2 separate regions of the Homo sapiens genome follow, and region 2 is linked to region 1. Evidence: promoter capture Hi-C in human tissues and cell types (Jung and others, 2019). All regions are on one chromosome and are shown on one strand. Each heading gives the region's core, a stretch centred on a gene start or on the middle of the fragment in contact. The rest is flanking DNA. Distances are from core to core; before and after follow the strand shown.

The links. The method cuts DNA at HindIII sites, captures the fragments that hold promoters and counts their contacts. A contact is called where the count stands out against the background at its distance.
Region 2: a fragment that was not itself captured here is called in contact with the fragment with the promoter of TULP4 in region 1 in 1 of the 25 tissues and cell types used here (mesendoderm cells).

Annotation. Positions count from the first base shown.
Region 1 is chr6:158,310,361-158,314,408 of GRCh38, forward strand. It overlaps TULP4 (TUB like protein 4), which reads left to right and starts at 2,105. Exons shown (of 14, transcript NM_020245.5): 1 at 2,105-3,908. The coding sequence starts at 3,657. RefSeq lists an enhancer at 3,729-3,808. The HindIII fragment of the contact is 2,154 bases long and covers 516-2,669 here.
Region 2 is chr6:158,632,541-158,636,588 of GRCh38, forward strand. It overlaps TMEM181 (transmembrane protein 181), which reads left to right. Exons shown (of 17, transcript NM_001376852.1): 17 at 1-2,889. It overlaps DYNLT1 (dynein light chain Tctex-type 1), which reads right to left. Exons shown (of 5, transcript NM_006519.4): 5 at 3,934-4,048. Among named protein-coding and RNA genes, the nearest start is that of DYNLT1, 10 kb to the right of the region's middle. The HindIII fragment of the contact is 3,978 bases long and covers 275-4,048 here.

The DNA of each region.
Region 1 (4,048 bases), core at 855-3,354:
CCCAGGCTGGAGTGCAGTGGTGCGATCTTGGCTCACCGCAACCTCTGCCTTTCGGTTTCAAGCAATTCTTCTGCCTCAGCCTCCTGAGTAGTTGGGATTACAGGTGCCCACCACCATGCTCAGGTAATTTTTGTATTTTTAGTAGAGACAGGGTTTCACCATGTTGGCCAGGCTGGTCTCGAACTCCTGGTGCTACATTCTTTTAAACAACCAGGTATCGTGAGAGTTCACTCACTGTCAGAAGACAGCACCAAGACATTCATGAGGGACTGCCCCCATGATCCAAACACCTCCCACCAGGCCCCACCTCTAACACTGGGGGTTACGTTTCAGCATGAGATTTGGAGGGGCCAAACATTCAAACCATGTCACATGGTATTCCATGAAAAAAGCAAGCAGTTCATTTTGCAACTTAAACTGTATAATACATGCTTTTTCCTGGGACTACCATGGTGCTTCAGTAGTCCACAGAAGTACTTTATGTGTACCTACTATTTTGGGACACAAGGGTATTAAAAACCATGTACTCAAGGGCTGATATTTAATAAAATTAATAATTTTTACTGCCGTATCAAAGATGTTCTTAAGTGAGGCTGGCTTTTTTTTTCTTTCTTTTTTTTAATCTATGACTACTGGTGCAGTTGGTACCTCTACCTTGATTAGTGTTAAAGAGCTTGCAGTTTGACCCACTGTTGATTTTGCACCATGGGTACAAATGTGAACACGGAAGAAGGCAAATTATGTCCTAGTATTATGATGAAAGTAGAGTCTTTTGCTGGGACTTGATGCTACAGGCCAGTAGTTCTCAAAGCCTGGTTCCCTGCCCAGCAGCATTAGCATCTCTTGGGAGCTTATTAGAAATGCGAACACCTGGGCCCTTCCCTTCCCTTTCAGTGTCCAGTTCCTGTGGGATGGGGCTGGGCCGCTTCAGCTGCCCCAGGAGACTGAGAGAGTCTGCTGAATTTGAGAAAGTCCACTCTGCTTTCTGGAAGGACTGGCGGGGCGGGAGGGCAGGGAGGATGAGTAAGTTAGGGACAGAGTGTTCTCGTGTTTGTAGAGGATGTGATGCAGCCTGGACTTCAGGCAGTAGGAAGAAGATGGAATGGATTTGCTAGAGACAGATTCTCTAGAACTTTATTGCTGGTAGACCACATAAAAGCTTAGAAAACAGCTGCGCTTTGCTCCGAGACCTGCCAGCCATCAGGGACGAATGAGTTTTAAAGGCCCTTACTGCTTTGTGTCTTGAGGGAATATCTTTTATTAATCGTGAAAAAATCAATCCAGATAACTTGCCTGAGTCATTTCAGTCTCCTTTTTGAGGATGCCTGCTTAAACAGCGACCATGGTCTCTGGAGGGGTAGAGTCTCACATTCGGAGTTCAGTCTCTTAGAAAGTACAGTTCAGTGTGGAAGAATGGCAGTTATGATTTCATTCAGATGTGCCCAGCTGCTGACAAATTGAATACAACGATCAGTGGCAGGCAGAACTCTCATTTGTTGTGTGTTGTCTTGAGTCTGGTGAGGTGTATCCTTTCACTATTGGATTTTACCATTCAGTGCAGTCAGTAGCTCCATTTGATGTAAGTGTAAAGATGGGTCTCTCATTTCAGTTTCAGCAATTATTCTTAAAACCTTTATTTTCCAGTGTTTTAAAGTTTTTAAATTTTATATCTTTTTTTTTTTTTAAACAGATTTGTAAGACTCCAGGGCCTCCCAGCCGTGAATAATCTGATGGTTCCTGAAATGACTGGGGAAGCAGACGCTTCGTATGGCAGTTGAAGAGTGTGTGTCTATGTGCATTTAAAACCTTCTTTCTGTACTTACACATTCACACGGGAAGACAGGCTCATTCTTGTGCACACTTGAGAGTTTTACAACTGATGAAAATTAATTTAAGAATCAGATGGAGCAACTTGACACCAGTGGGCTCAGGAGCCCGGGGAGAAAAATACATCACTAATGGCCAGTTTTCCATATGGTCTGCACGGGTAAAGAAAGTCTGCAAAAAGAAGAAAAAAAAATTTGCGCAGATTAAACCACAAAAATATTCTCCAGTTTAAAGAAGGAACTAAGTGAGAAGGTGACTGAGAAAGAAGTGTGATTTCAAACATTGCAGCGGCTCACACAGTGTTTGTTGCACTTTATTTTTCAGTGGGTTTGGTGATTTGGACGGATTAAAATTCTAGACTGAAAAGTAACTCCTACTGTGGTTATGGCTAGAGGAAAGCAAGTTCAAGTATGATGGGACAAGTTTGAATAATGAACTGATTCCTTTGCCTATCTTAATTAACTGTATTTGAGAAATTTTAATTTATTATTCCCCCCCTTTTTTCCTGCATCTATAGGATAATATTGTAAAATAGCAATTGAAACCAATAATTATTAAATAAATATCAAGGAAAATCCAAGCAAAGCTTTCTTTTTGTTGGACTAGTGGTGTGGTGTTTGGAGACAGTCTCTGAATGTGAACAGGAAAGCACCCATCAGCAAAACACTATCACTCTCTAGGGAGACAGCTGGGGGAATCTGACTCTGGCTTCTGCTTTTGTTTTAAGGGATTAACTTCCCTGTCAAGTCCAAGAAGACTTGCGTATGAGAAGATTACCTGATGGACTTAATTCTAAGATTAGCTTTTTTCATCAAGATGGAAAAAGATCTTTAGGAGCAGAAAAGGGGAGTGCTAACTGGGGGAGCGAGAAGGGAGACGAGCAAAAGAAACAAAATCTTGCCACGTGGCTCTGTTTTGTCAGCAAGAGGATTTAAGACTCACCCAGGGCAAACACTGGGACCACTGTAAGAGCGCTGGAACATTCTGCCTCTTGAGTGAAGGGGCCTTCTTTCTAGCCTCTATGGCACTGAGGGGTGCGCCGGCTGGTGGAGGAGCAGTCCGATGGAGCCCTGCGTTCCCCGGGGACACAGGGCCAAGCTTTGAGGTGGAAAGTTTCTGGTTCTGAAACAACAAGGAGAGAGTCTGTTTTTCTTCCTAAAATTTGGACTCTTGTCTGCACAAACTCTGGTCTGTTTTGCACGGTTTGTGTGCCTTTTTTTCCCTTTATGCAATCTTTTTCAGCTTTAGCAGCAGAAATTTGTCTAGTTCAGGAAACATGCTAGAGGGTGGCTTCAGAAGGAAGATGATCCTGTGTATTCTGTCTCTGCATCCGAACTTTTGAAGAGAAAAATTCGAGCTAGAGGGATTCTTAAAGCCTTAAGTTACTTGAAATCTATGTATTTGCAACCCTTTGTCTCTGGAATCATATTACACTAAACTGGAATCTCAGGCTGAATGAGAATAACCAAGTGGAGTAAAAAGAAGAAAACCGTTTCTTGATCACCACTTAATTAACGATGCTCTTTCTCCAAAGGATCAGCACGTTCTTCCTCTGAGAACTTGAAAATACAAATGGACCCCATGTTTTTTTAAGCATTACCTTTTCTTAGAAGACTGCCATCATCTTTTATAGAGGAATTTTTTCACTATGCATTCGGTGGATCTTTATAAAATACTGACCTTCTAATTAGATTCAGGTCAGTCTTAATTAAAGGGGGAAAAAAGCAACGCAAGCCAACCACAAAAACACATATACCAATGAAAGAAATTGGTTTAAATTTCACAGCATTAACATTACTTTTTAAGTAAAACAGTTCATTGAAGAAAGTATGTATGCAGCAGTGGAACATGGGCCTGTGCTTTGCAGCGATTCCAACATCCTGTGCCTGTCCTGGAAGGGGCGTGTCCCCAAGAGTGAGAAGGAGAAGCCTGTGTGCAGGAGACGCTACTATGAGGAAGGCTGGCTGGCCACGGGCAACGGGCGAGGAGTGGTTGGGGTGACTTTCACCTCTAGTCACTGTCGCAGGGACAGGAGTACTCCACAGAGGATAAATTTCAACCTCCGGGGCCACAATAGCGAGGTGAGCTGTGGTTTTGTTTCACTTTTTGGTCACTTCCAGTGGTGTTTTTGAGCCCCTTGTGGACTTGAAACTTCCTTCATTTCAGTTTCATAGACTTGCTGCCTAGTGAGACTTCCCATGCTGTGAGTTCTGTCTCTTAT
Region 2 (4,048 bases), core at 1,014-3,513, 320 kb after region 1:
TTGATAAGTTGAATAAGGAAAGGCTAAGATAATTTACAGGTTACCAACTCATGTGGGGAAGGTCTTACTGCCATGGTGCTTTTCAGGGGCCTGTGTGTACACACATGATTAAATGGATTTGCCTGTGGGAGGTATGGGCAGGAGAGGAACCCTTACCATTCCAGTAAATAGCAGTTTCTGCAATTCTGTTGAATATGAAATGCCATAGAGCTTTATTTATTTATGTAAGTAAAAGCTAAATGAGGGGCCAGGTGCAGTGGCTCACATCTGTAATCTCAACACTTTGGGAGGCCAAGGTGGGAGGATCACTTGAGCCCAGGAGTTTGAGACCAGCCTGGGCAACACAGGGAGACCCCGTCTCTATAAAACATTTAGAAAGTTGGCTGGGCATGCTGGGGCATGCCCATAGTCCCAGCTACTCAGGAGGCTGAGGTGGGAGGATTGCTTGAGCCCTGGAGGTCAAGGCTGCAGTGAGCCATGATTGCACCACTGCACTCCAGCCTGGGTGTCAGAGCGAGAACCCGTGTCATAAATAAATAAAGCTACATGAAAGATTGATAGAATATTTTAGATTATTTATTGGCCAAAAGTTTTTAAAACTCATATTTGGAAGCAAAATGAAAAGCAAGTAAAATGTTTTAAATGGTTCATGGAAAACGTATTTGGGTAGAAGGCAACTCGTGCTTCCGGAAGGGGTTCCCTGTCCTCCATGTGTCCACATGGCGGTCAGGTAGGGACGACCTGTTCTGTAAAGTCCTTGGCACTGCTGAATCTGTGGCATCATAGAAGGCCCTGGAGCTTCCCCGTTCCTTTCAGTCAGGGACTCCATATAGAGTCTCATGTGGACGTCTCCCGTGCTTTCCTCTTGACCTCTACAGTCACACTTCTGTTAACATCTGGTAACTGTGGGCAACCTGACTGATGCCGTCTTGGCAATTGAGGTCCAGAAGATGATAGTTCCGCAACGCAAGCAGTACCTACTTTTTTTCTTCATCTATGCATTGACTCTCAGATTACCATGCAGAGCTTCACGTTATCATCCACGTTAAGTAGTGCTAGGTAGGACCTTAGAGATGTTCATGAGAAACTATTTGTTATGACTTTCCTTTGTATCTTTCCTTTTAATTTAAACTTTAATGATAATGTACTTTTAATATGGATTCTATTCACATTTGTTTTAAAAACCTTGTAAATATGAATGTTTAAGACAACTTACTGCAAGGGTAATTCAAGTTTACATGATTTTTAAATTTGCAATGATGTTTTTTTTATTCTGTGTATTGAAAAAAATTTTCTGTTACCAAATTTTACAACTTCTAATAAGACTACTATAACTTTATGTAAACTGATGAAGATGTGCTGATTAACATATTCTGTGATATGGTTTACAACTTTTAATCATAATTGTCCATGATTTTGGAATGCTGTTATTTATCAGTAAATGTAAAATATTTGAGGCATTTAGCCATACACACACTAGAACTTTTTAAAACTTTGTCCTATAGTGTAATTATAAACTGATGACTATTATCTTCATACATTGAGTCTTCATGCATCAATGAAATGAAAAATATAGGATTATTTATTTACTTTTTGTAACTAAGTGGGAAATAAGAAAAAAAGTTAGAAAGTACTTAAGGGGAAAATCGTTCTTACTAAGTCATGTATTTTCAACTTGTCTTCCCTGGTATATCATAAATACCGACATATTACATACCCCATGTAAAATTTTGCTTAAACTCTCTAGCACTTGGCATGTAGAATATGTACCATAGGTATCAGGTTAAAACACTAAAGTCTGCCAGAAACTTTTGACAGTAGCAAGAAAATTGTTGAAGAAAAAATAAATTATTTACTGAGGGTAGTTATGTTAAAGTTTTGCGAACTTAAAGGGCTGACTTTAGTTCCTTCATGGTAATGGCTTGAGTAACATCATCTTTGGGATTTTTTAAATACTGGTCCAGTCTAGGAGAACCTGGAAGATGACCAGAGGTATTTCAGTTTCCCTAGGGAGAGCTTCGTTATCCATGTGGATGATAAGTCTGCTTGATTTATTATTAAATCATTATAGCAGTGAAGTGGTGCCATTTTCTCTCTCTTAAGCCCCATTTGAAAGGCTAGAGAAGGGGATATATATACTATGTTCAAGGTTTGTAAGGTTGTTAATGTACATAATTGCAGATTGCAATAAAAGCTTAGATACATTTTGTAAACCCAACCCACTAAATGAGCAGGTTACAAGACAAATGTCACCAGCCTCAAGTATTTTATGAACTATTTACTGAGGGTAGTTATGTTAAATAGATTATAATGTGGTAAATTATTTCCTGAATCCTTTATCACAGGAAAAACACAGACCCTCATAAAAGGGATAATTAAAACGGATGTGTCTGAACATTTAGTGAAGATGAGACTTAAAACATGAAAGTGTATTTGTGTATTTTGAGGGTTTTAGAAACCGGTTGCCTTAGAGGTTAGACTTTTGAAGAAAAAAAAAAAAAGATACAGATCTTTTCCCCTGGCCAAAGGGAAGTTGTATTAGTCTGTGACATCTTGTGATGCTGTTTATCTTGGTTTGACATTGGAGATACGCTAGTAACTGTGATACCATACTATAAAACAGAAGAATTTTCTGCTACTAAAAACTGCCTTTTTACAAAATGACTGTAAATATTTGTAAAATAAAATAACACTAAACTTTAAGCCCAAAAGGAGAGATAGAGCCATGTGTTCAGTTGTGGACCTGTCCGTGGGGCACAGTGCCACCCCATCACAGTGTTGCTGTCATCAGGCAAAAGTGAATGTTTGTTTATGGCAAATTCGTCTTTTGCGAATGGCTTAATTCTGACACTACCTTTCTGGGAAATGTTAATAAATTTTTAATATTCACTTCTATGTGTCTTGATTTGTTTGCTCTTTGTGTGTGGAGTTAATTTGGCCTTGCAGACATAAATGCTTTAATAAAGCGGCTTTGGAGACAACGGCAGGGCTTTTCCATTTCAGCAGGCAGGCACGGAGGTATCTTTATTGCCATGTCTAATGTGGCCTGGGGAAGAGCACTCAAGATGGAGACAAGGCGTGGGTTTGGGCCCAGCTCCCAACTTGGATGTGTGACTTTAAACCAATCAGATAACCTCCAAACACATTTTCTGAGATTTTTAAATGACTGCAAATTGTTGAAGACACAGAATGAATGATTGTGAAAACCATTTTGTAAGCTCTGAAGTACTAAGACAATTTGTGAGCCCTACAGAGAACACAGGATTAACAGTTAAGGTGTTACAGCTTTGGGCCAAGTGTGAGTTAGAGCTCTCTGGCTAAGAGAATAGAAATTGGTTTGCCCACCTCCCACCCCTTCACCTCTAGAAGAGGAGGGCTTAAGAATGGGAGGTGTGATGCCGAGGGGTAGGAATCTAACCAGAACCCAGCAGAGCCGTCAGGATCCTGGTCCCACGGGTAAAATGAGTACATCATGGAGAGGACCACAGCAGAACTTTTTTTTTTTTGGTTGTATATATATATATATATATTTTTTTTTTTTTTTTTTTTTTTTTTTTTTGAGGCGGACTCTTGCTCTTGTCACCCAGGCTGGAGTGCAGTGGCGGGAACTTGGCTCACGATCTTGGCTCACTACAACCTCTGCCTCCTGGGTTCATGCCACTCTCCTGCCTCAGCCTCCCGAGTAGCTGGGACTACAGGCGCCCGCCACCACACCTGGCTAATTTTTGGTATTTTTAGTAGAGACGGGGTTTCACCGTGTTAGACAGGATGGTCTTGATCTCCTGACCTCATGATCCGCCTGCCTCAGCCTCCCAAAGTGGTGGGATTACAGGTGTGAGCCACTGCGCCTGGTCTGGTTGTATAGATTCTGTAGCCACTCACTATGAAGAAATCGTTTATGATACTATGCAGACTATGAAGAACACAACAGACTTTAGATTTGAATAATTTATTCTAACAAAAGTATAAAGTATGGAAAATTAGTGTATTTGAATCATTTCAGAGAGTAGAGCAAGTTTCACACTAGCAGATTTCAGATTTTAGCACC